Regions from separate parts of the Homo sapiens genome. Here all the other regions are linked to region 1. Evidence: promoter capture Hi-C in 16 types of primary human blood cells and fetal thymus (Javierre and others, 2016). All regions are on one chromosome and are shown on one strand. Each heading gives the region's core, a stretch centred on a gene start or on the middle of the fragment in contact. The rest is flanking DNA. Distances are from core to core; before and after follow the strand shown. Region 1 holds the start of RAI14 (retinoic acid induced 14). Region 2 overlaps RAI14 (retinoic acid induced 14). Region 3 overlaps RAI14 (retinoic acid induced 14). Region 4 has its middle 100 kb from the start of RAI14-DT.

What was found. Contacts are between HindIII fragments. The CHiCAGO score rates a contact against its expected background, and 5 or more counts as called.
Region 2: a fragment that was not itself captured here is called in contact with the fragment with the promoter of RAI14 in region 1 in 1 of 17 cell types (endothelial precursors); the score reaches 5.0 in endothelial precursors.
Region 3: a fragment that was not itself captured here is called in contact with the fragment with the promoter of RAI14 in region 1 in 2 of 17 cell types (endothelial precursors and naive B cells); the score reaches 7.4 in endothelial precursors.
Region 4: a contact is called between a fragment that was not itself captured here and the fragment with the promoter of RAI14 in region 1, in 1 of 17 cell types (endothelial precursors). The highest score is 10.7, in endothelial precursors.

Annotation. Positions count from the first base shown.
Region 1 is chr5:34,653,015-34,658,345 of GRCh38, reverse strand. RAI14 (retinoic acid induced 14) reads right to left here and starts at 2,018. Exons shown (of 18, transcript NM_015577.3): 1 at 1,871-2,018. RAI14-DT (RAI14 divergent transcript) reads left to right here and starts at 2,173. Exons shown (of 3, transcript NR_183264.1): 1 at 2,173-2,353. RefSeq lists a silencer at 2,011-2,060. The HindIII fragment of the contact is 8,769 bases long and covers 1-2,992 here.
Region 2 is chr5:34,719,102-34,724,849 of GRCh38, reverse strand. All of the region lies in intron 2 of RAI14 (retinoic acid induced 14), which reads right to left. LOC124900960 (a long non-coding RNA gene) reads right to left here. Exons shown (of 3, transcript XR_007058730.1): 3 at 3,544-5,748. Among named protein-coding and RNA genes, the nearest start is that of RAI14, 66 kb to the right of the region's middle. RefSeq lists enhancers at 2,454-2,954, 2,955-3,455. The HindIII fragment of the contact is 7,021 bases long and covers 1-5,748 here.
Region 3 is chr5:34,752,581-34,758,129 of GRCh38, reverse strand. RAI14 (retinoic acid induced 14) reads right to left here. Exons shown (of 18, transcript NM_015577.3): 3 at 532-662. Among named protein-coding and RNA genes, the nearest start is that of TTC23L, 84 kb to the left of the region's middle. The HindIII fragment of the contact is 2,280 bases long and covers 2,868-5,147 here.
Region 4 is chr5:34,550,871-34,556,603 of GRCh38, reverse strand. No RefSeq gene overlaps it. Among named protein-coding and RNA genes, the nearest start is that of RAI14-DT, 100 kb to the left of the region's middle. The HindIII fragment of the contact is 1,599 bases long and covers 536-2,134 here.

The DNA.
Region 1 (5,331 bases), core at 769-3,268:
TGTACCTGCCTAGAACATGCTTTGAAAACTAGCAGACTGGAGAGAGAATTTCACTGTCAGGTTCACTACTGGTGGGCGGGACACTACATCATTCCCCTACGGAATCCCTAGGGGGCTCAGCATCCTTTCTGTCTCTTCAATTCAGATAACAGTAATAAGATTTTCCAGCAGGGTTATAATCACACCACCACCACCACCATCTCCAAAAAGCCATAAAACAATAAATTCATTACTGAAGCATCTCAGTGAATGGAGATGAAAACTGTGCAACAGCCCAGCACGGGATAGCTCTCCCAATCTCTGTTAGACAAGCACTGGCTAAAATATAAGAACTGGATCAATCTCCTCACATAAAATCAACTGTCTTACAAACCCAAGGGGGAAAAAAATCACACTTGTTAGGCATCATTAAGAAAAGATTATCAGATTATATACATCAGTAATAAAATTCCGAGCCACAGGGCGAACAGGGACCTGCAGGCTGGGGACAGAGCAGCCAAAATCCAGCCTCCCTGTGATTCCCGACCTCTTCTCCAACTCTGTGCAAAGCCCGAGGAGGTGAGACTCTCTTCGCTAAGGCGAGCTTCGGCTATGTCCTAGTGATGGACAGTTCCTCTCTGCCAGGCCCCTGCAGCCTTGAGACCACATTCCCCAGAGATCCGGCAACGTTTCCCCATCCCAGGCAGCTGGGCATTCTCCTCTCCCGGAAGGAAGACGGAATCCCACCCCGATCATGCGTGAGCTGCGGCGAAGAGAAGCCGCTGGTCCCGAGGCGAGGGGCCTCGAGTCCGCAGATTCCCCTCAACATTTCTGGGAGTAAAGTTGGGCTTAGCTGGGCTCCTGGCAAATAAAGAGGAGCCTGGAAAGACAGCCATGCTCAGGCCCCCGTGAGGCCACTTCGGACCCCTCCACGCTGTGCTGGGCTGCATCTGCCTTAATTCCCCGTCTGTTGCTTCTCCAGGCTCTGAGCCCCCTCCACAAAAGGGGGATGCGAAACTCAAAGGAGTTAGGATGTCAACCCTGCAAACCGCAGAAACTAAACCGACACCAACCTGCCCAAGAAGGCAGCGAAGGTGGTTGAGGACGACACCCCACCCCCCACCCCCCACCAGGCAGGGGTCGCGGGAGATGGCGGGCGCCTTTCTGGTGGCTCCACGTCCTCCTTACTCCCGAAGTCCCGGCGGCCCCGAGTCTGCCCCAACTCCAGCATCCGTTCTCCCCGAGCTGCGGCGGGGAAAACAAGGTAGGGGGCAGGGGCAGGCCCAGAGGGGTCTCGCCCCCGCCCTTGGGCCGGCCGAGGGGCTCCCTGGAGTCAGAGGAGGAACAATAGCGGACCCCGCGTCCTGGGAGCCACCCGGAGTCTCCCGCTCGCACCTCCCTCCCCACCTCCTCCAAGTTCAGCCGGGAGGCGGATTGGGCTCAGCAGCACCGACGCGGGGGCAGCGAGGCGCCGCGCGGGGCGAAACAGGTGGGACCCGGCGCAGACTCCAGGGTGCATCTCCGGGTCTGCTCATTCATTCCCACCCGCGCTCCCTCCGCCGCGGCCCCTGCCCCGCGCCCCGCCCCAGCCGGCCTGCGAGTCGCGGAGGACCCGGGAAGAACCCTTCTCCTAACTTGGCCGGGTCTTCCCGCTCTACCCTCATCTCCACCTTCCTCTCCTTCCTCTTGTCCCCAGATCTGCTCTCCGCAGACAGTGGGCTGCCGGCGGTGGACCAGGGAGAGGTGGCGGGACCCCGGCTGCAGCCCGCTCAGCCGCTCCGCCCGGGCGCCGTCCCCAGCGCCTCCCGCGCCCGAGCTCCAGACACAAAGGCGGGGACACGAGCCCGGGACCCCGCGCCGGGAGCCTCCCAACTCCGTGCCGCGCACTCACCCCATCGAGGCGGCGGCGGCGCTCCCCGGACCCAGCTGGCTGCTCCACCCCGCCCGCCGCTTCCCCAGGAAAACGCGGCCGCCGGGCTCGCTTCCTGCTCGGCTTCCTGCGCCGCAGTCCCTCCTCCTCCCCCGCTGCGGGGGTCAGTGGGCGCCGAGCTCCCGGGCTAGGCCGGCGGGGCGGGGGCAGCGGCAGCACCACCACGTGGCCGCCGGGCGCCGGCCCCCGCCGACCTGGATCCAGTGGGAGCGGGAAGGGAGGCGCTAACCATTCCCCTCCCATTCCACCCCTCGCGGCCCCAAATTCCGCGAGTCAGGTGACCCGGCCCCGGGCTCTGGCCGGGACCTGCGGGGGGTGCTCTCCGCCCTCCAGCCCCCGGCGCATCTCCCCGGCCCGCGCGTCCCGGCTGTTCGTGGCTTGCTTTTAGTCTCCAGGGATCGTGGGACCCTTCTCCGCGGATCTGTTTCATCCTCTTAACCTGAAGTTAGTGGAAGCCCCCCACGCTCTGACCCCTGGGTTTAGGACGGATGAGATCCCAGATACTGTTTATTTCTGATTAACTTCCAAAGTCGTTTGTGGTAGTGGCGAGTGTTTCAAAGTCACGGATCCAAGCCCCTTCTGACCAGAATCTAAAAGGTTGTTTTCCAAAATCATTGAACAGAAAGTAAAGTAGAATGTGCTCACGTTCTCCGGACTGAACCAATTGGTTGAAGTGACTGTTTTCTAGCACTCATTGGGTGGCAAGGCAAGACTACCACCGTTCAGTGTTGTTCTGCTCAGGAGTTAGAAAGGAGAAACCTACAGCCTGAACTGACAGGCGAGATTGCGCATGGGAACGCCTTCAAAATAGTGTGTGAGAAGCCACGGGGTACAGGCTCACTGCCCCAGGTCCCCGACAGCTTCTCTCCCTATCCCAGCCCACTAAGGCCCGACCTTTCAATTACGATGGACTCCACCATTAATTCCAAGGATTTCAAAGCTCTCTATCTACCCACTCATCTAATTTGGGCTGGCTTTTCCATGCATTCTAGTCATGCTAACCAGCTGTGACTTCAGTTCTGTTCACCTAAGCTCCTCCCTTCTCCTCGTTAGCTCTGCCTCCTTTGCTCAGGGAAGAAAGCTTTCTAGAATAAATAACGTATTGAGTTCTTTCTGGGATCTACTGTAAGTCAATTGAACTTAAGAGGGAAAAAAGGTCGATTCCAACAAAATTGAAATTCACCCTAACAGCTCAGTTTATAACGTGTCAGCTACATACTAATATTTATATGGCAGATATTACCTGTTCCCTCCCCCCGCCCCATCCCCCTTTCCTTCCTCCCTCTCCCTACTAGGGAAGAGCCTATCTCCCCTTTAACAGTTGAACTTGACAAACAAGCATCAAAAGCCTTGTAACTAGGTGCAGGGTCTTCACTTCCTACAGCAAAAGTTCCTTAGCCAAGTGAGGAACAGCTAAAGCAAGATGTACACTCCTCTTCCTGTCCTTTATCCCTCTCAAACAAAGTCACACTGTAAAAGAAACATGAACTGACCAACATTCTTTTGGTTTAATGCTGGCAATTTCTACAATAGTGTTTCATCGTGATTCTTGTTAATGACATATTGTAGGGTATTTAAGGGGAACATTACTGCCTGTGAGTTTTCTGCTCTATTTTTGCAGGTCAGTCTGGTTCAAGTAGGGGCAGCTGGGAGGATGGGATTTGGAGCATGGTACAGGTAGATGATGCTGTCTTGGAAATTTGACATGTGTGTATTCTGTAGGAACAGTTGACATTTTGAAGGAGTTAAAATATTAGACAACATTAAACAATGATTGTCTAAGGCAGGCACATCTGACTTTGATTCACAGAGGTCCTGTCCCTCTTCTTTTTTCTCTGTCCCAGCCACCTCCAAAGAGCCTACCAGCCTATCACCTCTTAGATTCCCATAGGTGGTTTGTATATGATTCTCCTTAGTTTACACTCCCACCCTCTAAAGTCAGCAAGTCTAACTCTGGATGAGGGATCGTTGTGAAAGTATTCTTATTTTTTTGGGCTGTGCCAAGATCCTTTTCCAGATCCCCACTTTTGAAACTCAAAGCAACTTTGTAGTCTGTAGACTGAGCATGGCAGCTAAGTTCTGCCAACTGCAGGGGGATTAGTGGGGAAGTAAGAGGTTCAATAGCATCTTCTTATTGGTTGTGTTGCCCAGGCGTTTTAGAAATGCTAATTGGGTTCATTGGATACATTGAATACCACCCTTTGATGAGAACTAGGCCCAGGTGAAAGGGGTTGAGTTAAAGAAGCAAAAATAAAATGACCAGCTAACCTGTGTAAAGTAGTAAAACCTTTTGGGAGGAGCAGTATGTTGCATTCCTTTATCCAAATATCAAGGTAACAGCAGTGTAATATGTAGTGCCATGAGCACCAAGAGCAAGGAGACTGGGTTTCCTGACCCATTTCTTTTGCTTACTTGCCATTTGACCTTCACCAAGGGTTTTAACTTCCCCTGTTCCCCCTTTCCTCATTAGTAGAAGGGAACATCAAAGTACATGACCTCCAAGATCTTTCTTTTCTTTTGTTTTCTTTTTTCTCTCTTTCCTTCTTTTCCTTTTTTTCCTTCCTTCCTTCCTTCCTTCCTTTCTCTCTCTCTCTCTGTCTTCTTTCTATCTTTGTCTCACTTTGGTGCCCAGGCAGGAGTGCAGTGGCACAATCATGGCTCACTGCAGCCTCAACCTCCAAGCTGAAGCTTTCCTCCCACCTCAGCCCCCAGGTCCCACCTCACTAGCTGGGACTACAGGTGTGGGCCACCACACCCGGTAATTTTTTTTTTTTTTTTTTTTTTGTACTTTTGGTAGAGACAGGGTTACGCCATGTTGCCCAGACTGGTCTCGAACTCCTGGGCTCAAGCGATCTGCCTGCCTCGGCCTCCCAAAGTGCTGGGATTACAGGCATGTGCCACCATACCCGATCTTTTTCAGTTCTGACATCCTAAACCTATTCTCTTAGTTTGTAGACCCTTCATAAGCAAAACTGCCCTGTCATTTCATGACGAAACATTGTTTTCTGATCACACTAGCAGGTCAGTCTTGTCAAAGCAATACAATTGTAAACTCCAAAGAGTGTTGCCATCCAGGACATCACAAATGAAATTCATTGATTGAGTGGGCTCAATTTTTATTCTTGAGATTAAATGATATCATCCCTTTTTCCTTGCTCATCCTTCATCAATACTGGTTCTTCTTAGATTATGAGTATCTTGATTGCCCAAGTCTGAGGAACCAAAGCTAAGACTTGTTGGGATAACAAGAAACTGCCCCTGCAGGAGGAAGGAGAGATAGATATCACACCACAGCCAAAAAGTCATTCTCCACTTTATTTGGTGTTTGGTCAGGAGCTGACTGTACTTCTGGGTCTAGTTAGAGGCAGCATGATTTAGAGGAATGTGGAGATATTGGACCCAGTCCAGAGAATAGAATAAAA
Region 2 (5,748 bases), core at 2,150-4,649, 65 kb before region 1:
TAACAGAAGAAAAGTAAAGCTCAAATATTACCACAACTATAGTCCTAGATTTACTTTCAAGCAAGAATTCCCACGGTAGCTGAGTAGGATTGTGGTGCAAAGTCCCAAGGAAAACTAAGCTACAGGTTAAGACACCAAGGCAATGCATCAGAGTCTCTGAGAATCAACTCCTGATCCTTGAAGCAGCATCCTTTTTTCCTATTTGAACTTCAGTTCTGTCCTTGAATGCTGACAGAGAGCTGTTTCTTGCTCTCTGTTCTCAGAATTCTCATGGCTTGGATTTCTCGGTCCACTTGCCAGTTTTATCACTTTACTCTTATTCTCCATGGCTTCCTGTCACGCCATGGGGAGTTAGGGGAAAGTGTTCACTGATAGCCCACATATGATTTGTGGGTTACAATTTATTAGATTCTAGTTTTGCCCAAATACCGGGCATACTTTAATAACCAAAACATTTCATTATCTGGATAGAAATGGGTATCTTATCAAGCAGATTTAAAGGATATGGATCTGTCCTCTAGAAAGGAACAACTAGGCCGGGTGTGGTGGCTCACACCTGTAATCCCAGCACTTTGGGAGGCTGAGGCAGGTGGATCACTTGAGGTCAGGAGTTCAAGACCAGCTTGGCCAACATGGTGAAAGCCCGACTCTACTAAAATACAAAAATTAGCTGGATGTGGTAGTGCATGCCTGTAATCCCAGCTACTCAGGAGGCTGAGGCAGGAGAATCTCTTGAATCCAGGAGGCAGAGTTTGCAGTGAGCCGAGATTGCGCCACCGCACTCCAGCCTGGGCAACAGAGTGAAAACTCCGTCTCAAAAATAAATAAATAAAAGGAGTTAGTGTATAAAATACTGCTTTATGCCATAATAAAGATAATAATAATACTTAAGGCAAAAAGTCACACCAAGGCAAAAAAGCATAGACCAAGCAATTTCCTAGCATGAGTATTGAAATTTTGAAGCATATGTAAATACCAGTCCACAGCCTATATCACACGTAATGCTTATATCATCAACAGAAATTTATGGGTGATGAGTATATTAAAACTAAATATATGGTCAACTCACTCATGTATTAAAACAAAAGGTTGATTCAAATAATTAAGTGATGTTATACATGTAAAAACACATTGTTAACATTTAACATTTAGCTTTCCTTAAATCAGGTGAAATTTCACTATTCTTATATAACGTAGGCCCAGACTACCACTTCCTCATCTCCACTATGCGACGGTTAATGTTATGTGTCAAGGTGGCTAAACTACGGTGCAGTTATTTGGTCAAACACCAGTCTAGATATTGCTGTGAATGTACTTTTTAGATATGATTAACACTTAAATCGGTAAACTTTGAGTAAAGAGGAGCACCTTCCATAATGTACGTGGGCTTCATCCGAATAGTTGAAGACCAAAAGACTTAGATCTCACACAAAAAAGGTATTCTGTCTCCAAACTGCATTTTGACTTGAAATACCAACTCTTCTTTGAAGTCTCCAGCCTGTCAGGCTGCCCTACAGATTCCGATTCTGCCAGCCCACAATCACATGAGCCAATTCCTTAGAATCAATCAATCTCCTTTTTTTTTCTCTCTATAGATAAATAAACATCCTATATACACATCTATATATAGGTATATAGATAAACATCCTATTGGTTGTGTTTCTCTGGAGAACTCTAATATATACCCTCACCATCACTCCACAGTGGATCCATAAAATAAGATGAAGTGGGTTTTTTTTTTTTTTTTTTTGAGACAGGGTCTCACTCTGTCGCCCAGGCTGGAGTGCAGTGGTGCAATCTTGGCTCACTGCAACCTCTGCCTCCCAGTTTCAAGCGATTCTCCTGCCTCAGCCTCCTGAGTAGCTGCAATTATAAGTGCATACCACCATGCCTGGCTAATTTTTGTATTTTTTTTAATTTATTTATACATTTTTGTATTTTTAGTAGAAACGGGGTTTCACCATGTTGGTCAGGCTGGTCTCAAATTCCTGACCTCCAGTGATCTGCCCACCTCAGCCTCCCAAAGTGCTGGGATTCCCAAAGTGGCGCAATCTTGGCTCACTGCAACCTCCACCTCCCTGGTTCAAGTGATTCTCCTGCCTCAGCCCCCCAAGTAGCTGGAATTACAAGAGCACAACACCACACCCAGCTAATTTTTGAATTTTTAGTAGAGACGGGGTTTCACCATGCTGGCCAGGCTGGTACCGAACTCCTGACCTCCAATGATCTGCCCGCCTCAGCCTCCCAAAGTGCTGGGATTACAGGCATGAGCCATCACGCCTGGCAGAGATTAAGTTTGTATTTCTCTGCTTGTCACCACATCACACAACAATGCTTTACAAATTTTCACTAAAACCGGAGGGGATGTTAGTCTTCTAGAGCTGCCATTACAAAATCCCACAGACTGGAGGCTGGAAATCCAAGATCAAAGTGTCACCCAGCAGGCTGATGTCTCCTGGGACCTCTTGCCTTGGCTTGCAGACAGCTGCTCACTGTGTCACCACATGGACTTTTCTCTGTGCATGTACATCCCTTGTGTGTGTCTCTTCATGAGTCCAAATTTTCTCCTTGTATAAGGATACTAGTCATACTAGATTAGGGCCCACCCTAAAGGCCTCATGTTAACTTTATGTCCAAATACAGTGACAGTCTGAGGAACTGGGGGTTTGGATTTCAACATATCACTTTGGGGGTGGGCGGGGCCACAACTCAGCTCATAACAAAGGGTCTATCTGAAAAGATCTACATATAGACTACATGGCATACATAAAACTCACTTTCAGGGCGAGACACCAAAAGAACAGCTCTCTTCTAGAGCAGTTAAAAGTGTCCAGCCAAGGCCAGGCACAGTGGCTCACGCCTGTAATAATCCCAGCACTCTGGGAGGCCGAGGTGGGTGGATTACCTGAGGTCAGGAGTTCAAGACCAGCCTGGCCAACATGGTGAAACCCTGGCTCTACTAAAACTACAAAACAGCTGGGCGTGGTGGCACGCACCTGTAAGCCCAGCTACTTGGGAGGCTGAGTCAGGAGAACCGCTTGAACCCAGGAAGCAGAGGCTGCAGTGAGCATAGATTCCATCACTGCATTCCAGCCTGGGTGACAGGGCAAGGCTCCACCTCAAAAAAAAAAGTGTCCGTTCAAGAAAAACACGAACTTATATTTAGAGACCAGTTGGCAGAGAAAATAAGAAATCATTTAAAATAAAAGCCCTAAGTCCAAGCCATAAAGGCAGACACGGAATTGCTGGCATTGATTTGCCACATGAACAATATCTTGTGTATTGCTCAATCTAGAAAGCAGCAGAGGTTTACTTTTTTGAGCCTGGCTAATGATTTTCCCTGCAATCTAGATGGTCATAATACATTTAGTTGCTACATCCCTCTTGAGCTCTGGACTAGGCATGATGTGAGATCCTTGTATTATTTTTAACATATGTACATATTTTACATATCTACATATTTATGTACATAAATATATGTACATATTTTATATGTATGTATACAATATACATACATACACATCTATATATATATATATATATATATATATATATATACACATCTACATCTACATACATACACACACATATCTATATAAACAACATAGTTTTGATCACAAGGCATTCAGAGTCCAGATACCAGAAGCAATATCTATGGACAACAACGGGAGGCCGAAGACCTTACAGAAGACAGGGAAGGAAAAAAAGGCAATGGGAAGAAAGAGACTTAAGAGAGGAGAAGGAAGAAGGGGAAATATAAGAAATAGGGGAAGAGAACCCATGTGGGAAGGCAGGTCTTTGTTCCTCCCCTCTCTGTGGGCTGTCATGGAGTCCCACCTCTGACTAATAATAGCAACAACAACAAAAATTACAGTGCACTCCTGTAATTCCAGCTACTCCGGAGGCTGAGCGCGGAGGATTACTTGAGCCCAGGAGTTTGTGGCCAGCCTGGGCAACATAGTGAGAACTAGCTCTAATAAGTAAAAAAAGTAAAAAATAAAAGCCAGAACTTTACATGTGAATAGCACATGCAGATTTCCAAAAACTTTTCACCTCTGTTATCCCTCACATACTCCAAACAGCCCAGTGAGACCTCATGAAAGCGCTATTACTTTTATTAGTCAAGTAGAAAAAAAAATCTGCCGGGCGCGGTGGCTCACGCCTGTAATCCCAGCACTTTGGGAGGCCGAGGTGGGCAGATCACAAAGTCAGGAGATCGAGACCACCCTGGCTAACACGGTGAAACCCCATCTCTACTAAAAATACAAAAAATTAGCTGGGCGTGGTGGCGGGCGCCTATAGTCCCAGCTACTCGGGAGGCTGAGGCAGGAGAATGGCATGAACCCGGGAGGTGGAGCTTCCAGTGAGCCGAGATTGCGCCACTGCACTCCAGCCTGGGCGACAGAGCGAGACTCCATCTCAAAAAAAAAAAAAAAAAAAAAAAAAAATCTGAGACAGGGTCATAGAATGACTTTCAGAGTCTGGAAGCGATTGAACATTTTATAGACTAACTTGACTCCATATAAATGATAAACAACCCATCATCCTCCCTTAAATTTTTGGTTTACACATAATCAAACTATATGATACATATACATTTTTAAAATTATGTGTCCATTCTTTTTCTGCGAAACTTCTTTTTGGTTTAACACTTTGTGAGCTAATCGTTTGTTTAGCTTTAAGTATATCTCACTTGCAAATAAGCTCTGAGAAGAAATAAATATTTACTGGGGAAAGTAACTGTCATAATATCATAAGGAAGAATTCTCATTCCTAACTAGAGGCCAATTCTTCTCCTTCTAAGGTAGCTTTCCAAACACTACAACTTTTTCTATAATTATTTAAATTTTTTTTTAAATCTTAGGAAGACAATGTAATTGGTGAACTTTTAGTAATGGAGACAAAGTGGGGTACAGGTAATATGGCTCTTGTCCAGAAATAAAATCAGGTTAGGGCTGATTTTAAGACTTTATTTTAAAGAGTTACCACAAAAAATATCTTTGAATTGGAAAGAAAGTCAGCCCTTGGCTTCGCTGGTGCGTCTTACACCTTGATATTACCACCTAGCATATAGCGCAGAGTTCAGTTACTGACATGCCATTGACCAGACATCTAAAAGCCAGCTTTTAGATGAAAACCCAGGCTCCAGTTCAAAGCTAGAAGGTGACACGTGCCCTGGGACAGAGTTCAGATACTATATTTCAGGTCTTTGTGTTAAGGTCTTAGCTTTTAGTCCAGCGTGCAACCACGGTAACTCAGGGAAGAGCAGTGCAAGGACATTCAAGGAGTCCCTTTCTATAAATTTACAAACTGCTCACATACCGTGGCAGAGATTTTCCACAAAGGGTGCGGTAAGATTTCTGTTCCCATATACTCTCCAGAACCACCTTGCATCAAGAGGCATAATCTATTTCTCCTCCCTTTGAATATGAGCGGGATGTTGTGACAATCTCAATGGATGGAAGGTGGCAGAAGCGATGCTGTATGATTTCCAAGGCTAGACCATGACAGGGGATGGATGAGGTTTCCGTTTAGCTCTCTCAGGATGTTTCCTTTTGGAACCCAGCCACCATGCTGTGAGAAAGCCAGGGCCAATGGGGCACCAGCGTTCTGGCCAAAAGCCTCAGTTAAGGTCTTAGGTGACAGCCAGCATTATCCGTCAGATGCTGAGGGAATGAGCCACCAGGTAATTAGCCCCCATCCTTTCAGTCTGCCCAGCTGAAGTTCCACAACACGGATCAGAGACGA
Region 3 (5,549 bases), core at 2,758-5,257, 98 kb before region 1:
CAACGTAAGAATGGATATAAACAAATACATGCTCATGCACAAACACACACAAATACTTAATCAAATATACAGCTTTAATTATGGCAAGGAAGAGTACTACATACAGCAAACCATAAAGCAAAATCATACTACTCATGTACTTAATGATCTATGTTAAGGAAGATCAAATAAATAAACAAGTAGTTTAAGATAAATACACAGTAAGGTTTGAGGGTTATAGGAAAATACTTTTTTCTCTTTTATGCTATTTCTTATCGAAGAGAGAATTCATGTCTCATCTACAATTGGTTGCAATCTTAGGAGGTAAAACCTTTGCTTATACTTGGGAACATGTATACCCATTCAAGGTAGAGCTCCATATGTGACTTGGAATTTGGAGAGAAAGGCACTAGATTAAAATATCTTCTTACATATTTCAACATGGGAGTGGAGAGGGAGCACGTGTGAAATTCCCCTATGGATACTAAGGATTCCAGAGAACACCCCAAAAACCCAGAACCAGCATATCTGCAAACCAGTGTTTCAGCTTACGCGGTCTTGCCCTCACTGTCGTGTTTGGTGGCACTGGCCCCCTTCTTGCCGAGCAGTGAGGCCACCTTCTCCGCATCTCCATTCTCCACGGCCTGCAGTAGCCGGTCATCATTCTTGTTCCACTCATTGGTCTGTAGAGAAAGAGAAGAAACAGAGGTCATGAACAACACTGGCCACAGCCGCACTGACCAGCAGGGCTGCAGTCCTCGCAGCCCCCACCCTCCTGTCACTCAAATTAAAGCCTGCTCCCGAATGAGTGTGTTTTAAAATACCTTCCCCTTCACCATGGAGACACCCAAGAAGGCCGCTTTCCCAAAAGAAAACATAAATAGTGCAATGAAATCACGGCTAGTCACCAAACTCTGAGATAAAATTTACTTCTTTTAACTAACACTAGGAATATGAAGCAACGTAAAAAGACCTCAAGGCCAGTTTACACATTAGCTAATTTCTCGCTGAACTAGACAGCTGCTCCTCAGCACGTTGGCCTTTGACCTCATCCACAGCTCACTCTGTCCACCGTGTTACAGAACCAAACCAGCAGCTCAAGGTTACCCGAGGTTTACAGACACATAATTTTTCATCTGCTTTTATTGCCTCTCTTTCTGGTCTGTTTACCAGGCCCTGAATTTTGAGCTGGATACTGATTTTAAGTAGTTGTCCAGGCTACCGACTCAACAAAGTCTCACCAGAAACAAAACTTCTTCCTGAGCAAGCTCTTAAACGTCAAAGAGCTTTGAGCAAAGCCTCAATCACTGTCAATGCCAAACCCCAACTGAATAATTCTGCAAACCACAGTAACAGTAAGGCACTCGTATGTGCAAAACTGATTTCTACACTTAGGAGGGAAAGAGACGATTTCTATATAAGAGCAGATGGGCTCTGAATATAAGACTAAGAAAGACATGAAAGGCAGCAGTGAGCCACTGAAGGTTTGGGAGCAGAGGAGGGAGAGAATTATAGAACCAGTGACTGAAGAGTCATTGGGAGGTGTTGAAGCACGTGGGATTAATGAGGGAAAGAGGGGAGGAAGGAAAGATGTTGAGCATATCAGAGGCTCTGGGCACTTTGCAAGCCCGGGCTGCCTTCCAGTCGTCTCCTGCGCCCGGCCCCTGAGCTAAGCCCACTTTCTGGCCCCTTCGGCTGTGGACACCACACCCTGGGAGAGACTCCTTTTCCCTTCCCAAAGCTTTCTATAGACTCTGCTTCCTTGCAGCCTCTGAAGGGATGAACCTCCAGGTATTTCGTATTAACAGCTTTACGATCGACCCTTAAAAGGAAGCAGACAGAGGAGATATTGTAGATTTAAAAACTAAAAAGAAGAAATTTTACAGGATGACAGTCTTCCACGGCCCCGGGAGTATGTTCCCAATCTCTGTACTGATGGAAATGAGGAAACCCAACAAGTCTTTGTCCATCAGATGTCTCAGTCACCCTCCCAACCCTAGCCCATATGTAGGGCCTTAAGCCAGGGAGGGATAAAAGAGATGTGTTCAGAATTTGCATCTCTGAACGTCTCAGGACTGAACCATTCCCAGTTTTTAGGACTCTGTCCTCCCCCACCAACACTGAGTGCAGGTGCACAGTAGGAATGAAGCAGGTTTGAACAAAAATCAGCAGCTTGTTCTCTGGGCTGCGTGAACTTGAAGTCCAGAACTCCAGACTGACACTTACATGTTGTGTGACCTGAAGTCACCCATAATCTTTCTGTGCCTCAGTTTCCCCAGGCTTTGGACTGGATGTCCACTGTGATTCCACCAAAGCTCAAAATTCTTATTATATAAAATTCCCCAAACTCTGCTAGGGATTACTCTAGAACAGGACTGTCTGCCGTCATGGAAATGTTCTTTATCTGGGCTTTCAAATACTATAGCCACAAAGCCAGTGATTCTTAACCAGGATTTGTTTTGCCCCTGTGGGGTCATTTGGCAATCTCTGGAAACATTTTGGTTGTTATGTCTATAGAGTGCTACTGGCATTGAGTAGGTAGAGACCAGGTGTGCTGCTGAAAGTCCTACAATGCACAAATGCATGAGACAGTCCTCCTACCCCCACCAAGAATAATCTGGCCCAAAATGTCAATACTGCATGAGCCACTTGTGGCTACTGAGCACTGGAAATGTGGCTAGTGCTACTGAAGAAGTGAATTTTTAACCTCGAGACTTCACGTGACGTTAGCCAGAGGCCACCATGTAGACCAGTGCAGCTCTCCTTGATGACTCTCCTCATAGGTTTAACAAAGTAAGAATGTGTCTGGACCAACATCAGCCACGCTCCTACTACAGCAATTTACTCACAAAGAAATGAGATTTTTGTCTTTAGTTACCAATCAAGCTTCCTGTTGAAGGGAAACATAAGAAATATGGCGTTCCTCACACCATCATTTGTTAGTAGAATAGAAAGCGTAACTTAACAACTGTACAAACAACTACAGCAAATGATCAAGCCCCAAGAAACACAGTGCAGCTTATTCCCCCAGAGTGCACTTTACAAGCAAAGAAAAAAGGGAAGAACATTTAGGACCAATGATCCCTACCTATAGAATCCTAAAAGAGAAAAGTATTGTTTTTCCAAATCCTTTTCTAACCTAAACTGAACAAATTAAAACTGGACTGGGAAGATCAAAAGGATATGATCAAATCTCAGAGGACAGGACTGAAAGTATTCAAGCAAAGGAACGGCCGCATGAAAGGATTTTCCTTTTCAACGTTGCTAAGGCACTCTACTCTTAGGTAGAGAAAAATCTGATTGCAGGGGTTCCCTAAAATTCGTTCCACATGGATCTTTAAGGGAGTTCAGTTTCTATAAGACATGGCAGGAGAGATCTTCCCTATCCTGCTCTTTGGAAGACAAGGTCAATGCAACATTCCTAGTGGTCTGAAATGCCTCTCTTCTATCTAGAGCCTCTTTTCAGTGCAGGCCAGAATTTACTTTTCTCTTGGAGCAGATGAAGAGAACATGGCTACACAAGCAAATCTTCAATAAATAATCCACAACACCATTCAAGAAGTGCTGCAGATGGGGTTCACAGTAAGCAGAGCTAGGTTGGGAAAAGAGGAGGGAAGGTAAGAGCCTGGGCGTGGTAGCTCATAACTGTAATCCCAGCTACTGGGGAGGCCAAAGCAGAAGGATTGCTTGAGTTCGAGACCACTCTGGGCAACACAGTGAGACGCCATCTCTAAAAATAAAAAATTTTAAGAAGAGTTTTGCTCTTAAAATTCTCACAAGCATGCTAAAACTAGAGGCCAAGTAGGGTCCCAATTAGACGTCTGATCCAGGAATCTGGATTCTGATCAAATAGCAGAGTTGTCTAGTCCTGGGCCAGGCCACTAATCATACTTGCAATTAGCTCTGATATGCACAACTGGCCATATCATGCTCCTTCCAGAAGCACAGTGATAAAGAGGCCATCAGTTTTCCTTCCTAAACTTGCCCACGGAGATATTTCCTACATCCTCTCATCCTCTCCTATAAAACTATTCTATCCAGTGCCATACTCTTTTTTTTTTCTTTCTTTTGAGATGGAGTCTCACCTTGTTGCCCAGCCTGGAGTGCAGTGGCACGATCTTGGCTCACTGCAACCTCTGCCTCCTGGGTTCAAGCGACTCTCCTGCCCCAGCCTCCTGGGTAGCTGGGATTACAGGCATCTGCCACCATGCCTGGCTAATTTTTTTTTTTTTTTTTTTGAGATAGAGTCTCGCTCTGTCACCAGGCTGGAGTGCAGTGGTGCAATCTCAGCTCACTGCAACCTCCGCTTCCTGGGTTCAAGCGATTTTCCTGCCTCAGCCTCCCGAGTAGCTGGGACTACAGGCACATGCCACCACGCCCAGCTAATTTTTGTATTTTTAGTAGAGGTGGGGTTTCACCATGTTAGCCAGGATGGTCTTGAGCGCTTGACCTCGTGATCTGCCCACCGTGGCCTCCCAAAGTGCTGGGATTATAGGTGTGACTCACAATACCTGGCCCAATTTTTGTATTTTCAGTAGAGATGGGGTTTCACCACATTGGCCAGGCTGGTCTTGAACTCCTGACCTCAAGTGATCCTCCCACCTTGGCCTCCCAAAGTGCTGGGATTACAGGCGTGTGAGCCACCGTGCCTGGCTCCAGTGCCATTTTCTATACCAAAATTCCCATAGCCAATCACAACATGAGACAAAACAGATGTTCAATAAGCACTTTGAGTCATTCTTTGGAATCCAGAAGCAAATCCTCTCCCCTACCCCCACCCCCAAGCATCAAAAAAAATCTCAAAAAGTCACTTTGGTCAATCTACTGTCCAAAAGTAGAGCTGGTCAAATAAATAGGTAAAGTTTGAAATTTTATCATAACATCCCAAAGTAATTCATTCATACTCTAGAATCAAAGAAGGCTTTTGGAGACCACCATCAAACTAACAAAATTACCTCTCACCACTTTCCATGAAAATCCTCTCCTCTAACTAGCATGCCCTCCATAGGACAGGACTGATTCTGCCTCCACCCTGGGCTTCTGGTCCTCTTATAGTTTTCAACTCTATGAAAGCTGTATAGTTTATCGGTTAACCTCACATGTTAAAAAAATAAAATAGAAAACATCAGATGTACCACCTTTAATAAAGTTAAATGTCTTATGAAGCTTTTATTTATTACATGTATGTGTATCCTGACTGATATAAAATACATTTCTGGACTGGGCACGGTGGCTCGTGCCTGTGATCCCAGCTACTTGGGATTCTGAGGCAGGAGAATCGTTTGAACCCGGGAGGTGGAGGTTGCAGTGAACCGAGATTGCACCACCGCACTCCAACCTGGGCGACAACCCAAGACCTTGTCTCAAAAAAAAAGAAAAGATACATATATATATATATATACACACACACACACACACACACACACACACACACACACACACACACATATATGTAAGAAATATAGATATTTCTTACTGGAGGATCACAAGAAAAAACACTGGCAGCCACTGCTTCAGAATGCTCTGTCACCCCATCTGCCTAAGCAAAGGCGTATTTCGAAAGCCTAGCT
Region 4 (5,733 bases), core at 86-2,585, 100 kb after region 1:
TGGTGGAGCTGGGATCTGAATTCAGGTCAGCCTGTTCCAAAGTCCAATCTCCTTCCAGAGTAAGATTCATTCCTTCAAGAAGGGGGAAGTGAAAAGGTGAAGAAGACAAGATTTGCTTACCTTACAATTATGCAGGAATGATTGTGGCGAAGCAGCTGTGTGGTCACTGAGGAACACAGTCACCGTTTAGAAAATATGGGTGTCCGTGCCCCTCCTGGGGAAAAAAAAATCTTCTCACTCAGGTGTGTACATTTTAAACTCACAGAAAGCTGAAAGGAATCTAGGAGGAGTTGGGCTCCATAAAAATCACTACCTTTGTGGTTAAAGATTTATTAAGTGATCACAGCATGCTGGGCATATAAATAGACCTGACCCTTGCCCTTAGGGAACCCAGAATAAATACACAAAATTTACAGTCATAGTGTTTGATGTCAGACTAAATGTTTTAGGACCATACATGTTCCAGGATCCTACTCAGTAGGGTTAAAAAACATGGCTTGGGAGGAAGTTGGGAATGAAGGAAGTCATCCAAGCTTTGCAGCCACATCTACCTGGGCTTCTCTACTGTCGCTAGCTTTGCAAGTTAGGGCAAGTTACTTAACTGCTCTGACTCTCAGCTTCCTCTTCCACCAAATAGAAGTGATAATACTTGCCTCACAGGATTAATGTGAAGTGCAAATTACTGTGTGCAAAATGCCAGGCACGTAGTTGGTGATAAACAAATGATAACTATGGCTATTAAAATCTCCAAGGATAGGCCAGGTGTGATAGCTCATGCGTGTAATCTCAGCACCTTGGCGGGTGGATTACTTGAGGTCAGGCAGATTACTTGAGACTAGCCTGGCCGACGTGGTGAAACTCTGTCTCTACAAACAATACAAAAACTAGCCGGGTTTGGTGGTGTGTGCCTGTAGTCCCAGCTACCTGGGAGGCTGAGGCAGGAGAATCTCTTGAACCTGGCAGGCGGAGGTTGCAGTGAGCTGAGGTCATGCCACTGCACTCCAGCCTGGGCAACACAGCGAGTCTCCATCTCAAAAAAAACAAAAACAAAAACAAAAAAACTCTGCAAGGATAACATCCAAGCTCTGTTCCCTGGTACGAAAGGCTGTCTATGATTTAGCATCTACTTGCCTTCCTAGCCTTTGTCCTGCCCCCTCCACTAACTGGCCACTGTGACACAGGCATTCATTTCTTGATGCCTGTCAAAGTCTTCCCCTTCCTTTAAGGTTTCAAGGTTTGGAGCAGTGGTTCTCAAAGTAGGTCTATTGACCCCTGGGGGACCCCAAGATTCTTTCACGATATCCTGATGTCAGAATTATTTTCATAATAATACTAAGATGCTGTCTGCCTTTTTCACTGTGTTAACATTTGCACTGATGGTGCAAATGCAATAGTGGGTAATAGTCAAACAGCCACCACCACTCACTCATAGAAAAAACAAAGCCAGTGTCACATAAGAGTGTTGTTAATGAAATAAAAAATCAGTAACTGTATTAAACCTTGACCTTAAAGTATGCACATTTTAAAATATTTTGCGTGATGGAATGGGAGACACGCATCAAGCACTTTGGTTGCATACTGATATTCACTGGTTGTCTAGAGGAACAGCATTTGTGCCATTGAACTGTGAGCTGAACTGCTCCTTTTTTCATAGAACGGCATTTTTATCTGAAAGAACAACTGATGGACAAACAATGGTTATTCAGACTTGCATATTCGGCTAATATTTTTTTTTCAGAAATGAACCGTGTCCATTACTTCAGGAAAACCAGCTGACGGTATTTGTTGCCAAAAATAAAATTGGGGCTTTCCAGCAAAAACAAGAATTTTGGGAAACTTGTATCCACTACTGTGAGCTTGACAGCTTACAAATAATTAAAGCCTTTTTTGGATGAACTCCATGATAATATTAACAAACGTGATTTTTAAAATATTGATTAATAAAATGTGCCAACATTTTGAAGATCAAAATTTTCCAAATGACCAGTGCATTGTGTTACAAAATTATGCAGGTAAAAGAGCCACTCAAAGTCCATGTAGACCAATGGGTTTTATTATAACAGAGGATAAATGTTCATTGATGTGGTTTCAGGCTTCACATTGCCACTAATCTTTAAGAATTACTAATGAAGCTTCGATGTTGCCATGGTTTGGGTGTTTCTGTTCCCCAAAATTCATATTTTGAAACCAAAATGTATTTTTTATATTTTCTATTTTGTTTGTTTGTTTGTTTTTGAGACGGGAGGCTCACTCTGTCATCCAGGCTGGAGTGCAGTGGCACTATCACGACTCATTACAGCCTCAACCTTTCCAGGCTCAGGTGGTCCTCCCATCTCAGTTTTTGTATTTTTAGTAGAGATAGGGTTTCGCCATGTTGCCCAGGCTGGTCTTGAACTCCTGGGCTCAAGCAATCCACCTGCCTCGGCCTCCCAAAGTGCTAAGATTACAGGCATGAGGCACCATCCCACCAGCTTTCCCAAGCCTCCAGCTTGCAGATGGTAGATCATGGAATTTATAAGCCTCCATCATTGAATGAGGCAATTCCTCACAATAAATCTCTTTCTACATATCTGTTTATATCCTATTAGTTTTGTTTCTCTGGAGAACCTTGACTAATACAAATATTCTTGAAATGAAACAATAGCTCATTTATTTGGAATAGGTTCCTAGAAATAGGATTACTGGACCAACAGGAATTACAAAATGCAGTTTGATTAATTTAAATATATGCAACTTGAAGGATGCTATGTTTGTATTATGGCCAATGCCATATGTCTGCATTGTCACATGGAAAGTCTGAGGCCAAATAGAGCTTTCCATTTTGTAGAGTCAGCTTCTGACACATTTTGCAGAAAGATAAAGGTTTGCTTTCTGCATCGTTCTGCCCAAATCTCTCTGCCGCCCACACTACCACATTACTATCTCTTATACTTAGGTGCTGAGAGATATCTGCTGTAGACTTGGGTCTGAGGGGATGTATTTGTCAGAGATCTTAGCACAAGCCGCTGAAACCAAGCCTGGCCAATTTAAGCAGTAAGAAGTGTATTAAAATATTAGGTCATTAACTAAATTTCCAGGAGCTCCAGAGAGCTAGGACTGGAGCCCATGTGGCCAGGATAAACCTCCCATATCACAGCAGAACCATTCCTAAGAAGACTCCGCTGCTTGCACCACCTTGCTGTGACTGTCTCTGGAGGTCACCATCACCTCTGCCTCCATTGCAGTAGGGTAGATGCCAGTGGACCCTGAAGCTCCTGAGTCACTCTCCAGTACAGATGCTCTGGTTAGGCATCTTGTAGGTGTCTTAATTCAAGTTGCAAAGGAGGCTAAAAAAGCAAGAGTCTGTCACTGGAAGTGGCTCATGCTTCCCACCAAGACATCAAAAGGGGCTGCCCATAATATTGAAGAATGGCTCAGATGCTGAGCTGCCAAAAATGAATGACAAATGCTTACCATAGACAGTAACAATGACAGTCAAGCCGCTGGAAGCCTAGTGTCTATTCTAGGAGGCGGGAGACAGATGGGCCTTTCTGTTCACTACAGTGGAGGAACCAGGTCTGATTCATCATCGTTTTCTAGTTCTGAGGAGAAGGTAGGTGTGCAGTAAGTTTTTCCTGGGTGAATGAATGGTTAGACACTGCTGATGAAGAGGGATGCTGTCCTTTATGCAGGGTGCTGATGCTCTCCATGCCATTCTGTTTCATGGATGCTGTCACTGGGAGTAGGATATCACGTGTCAGGCTGAAGACACCCACTGTCACATGGTCTTCACCGGCCTCCATTTTGGGGAGAAGGGAATTGTTTAAGCCACACTGGCTCTGTTTTCTCAATCTCCAAAAAGGGTACTGAGGACTGGTTTTTAAGTGTATTCTCTTGTAAGATGAAAAACAATAATTTCCACATTAAGAAAAAAATCCAATGAGACTGAAAATTCAGGACACCTGGTGGAAACTTGAAGCTTTTTACAAGAGCCACTATTCAGGCCCAAAAGGGTCACACAGGAAAGCATATGCCATTCTGGATTTTTGTTTCTGGATATTTTATTGTTTTGCTCTCTTACACCACTCCAGCACTGCACACTCTTTAAAAATAAAATAATTTTTAAGAGAGCTGGTTGTGTACGTTTATAGATAGGAGAGAGGAGTTTGGATAAGTAGCCAATTCTGACTGATTTTGATTTCCTAAGTCTGATTTCCATAATTAGAAAAGGGGAACGCAGTCACAGATGATGTCATCTGTTGGAACCACTGAAGAATGAAGACAGTTGGGTTGCTGCCTTTGTTCATTCTGGCTTTTGCCAAGTGTGGAAGTGGAACAGCAGCTTGGGATCATGGTTGGCAAGGCACCTGAATGTCAGAGCTTGTTTTGCAGGACCTTGAAGGCAATTCCTTTTAAAGGCACCAGGTCTCTATCCTATTTTGTGTCAGTTTTTTTTCCCTCCTTCCTAAATAGATCATTTCTAGCTGTAGATATCACAAATGCAATTTACACTTCATTCAGACATCTGAGACACCGTATGCTAACTAACAACAGAAGTTGGAGTAAAAAAAGCAGGGAAGTGAAAAACACAAGCCTTCTTTGGCTCACCAGTACACCCACTAAATCTCATCCAGCAAAACTGTTTTACATTGAGACCAGCTTGCCTAATGGTGATGCGTCTCCAATCCCATATGGATTTGACGTTTTCTTGCAGTGTGCTTTTCCCTCACTATGCAGATACTAACTGATCTGCCTCCTCCCAGATTTTTTCAAGTAATTGGTTGCTTGCTGTCTGCAAACCCAGACACTTTTGAGGTATAACATGAACCACCCTCTTAACCAGTGTTTTCGTGTTTGAGTTGCTGCCACTGATGCTGCTCCTGGGAGCCAGCCGACGGGTCAAGTCCCTTTCGGCTGATGAAGATGTGGATGCTCAGAGCTCGGAGTTAAAATCCAACAAGTGGCCGGGCGCGGCCGGAAGCGGTGGCTCACACCTGTAATCCCAGCACTTTGGGAAGCCGAGGCGGGCGTTTTCACCTGAGGTCAGGAGTTCGAGACCAGCCTGACCAACATGGCAAAATCCTGTCTCTACTAAAAAAATACAAAAATTAGCCAGGTGTGGTGGTGCACAACTGTAGTCCCAGCTACTTCAGAGGCTGAGACAGGAGAATCGCTTGAACCCTGGAGGCGGGAGGTTGCAGTGAGCTGAGATCGTACCACTGCATTCCAGCCTGGGTGACAGAGTGAGACTCTGTCTCAAAAATAAATAAAATAAAATAAAATAAAATAAAATCCAACAAGTAACAAAGTTGGACAAGGTCTCCTAGGTCACTTCCAGCCCTAATTTCTCCTGTATTCCCCAGCATAGCCCCAGCAATTGAGAGCATGTAATAAGTATTAACAACTGCATGTGTTGACAGGGCTGAATATATTTAAACACAGGATAACAATGGCAAACATTTGCAGAGTGTTCACTACGTGCCAGGCACCATACTACTTAGCACCTTACATGTATGATCTCAGTCAGTTCTCACAGCAATGCCACAAGGAAAGAACTATTATTACTCCTATTTTAGAGACGGGGAAACTGAGGCAGCAGATGGCTTAAGTAACTTGCCCAAGGCTGCATTTAGTAAGACGCAGAGCTGCAGTATGAACAATGGCCATCCCACTCCAAAGTCCACATTCTTCAGAATTATAACAACATCAATAATAAGACAACAAATATTTACATAGTGTGCCAGACACTTGTTT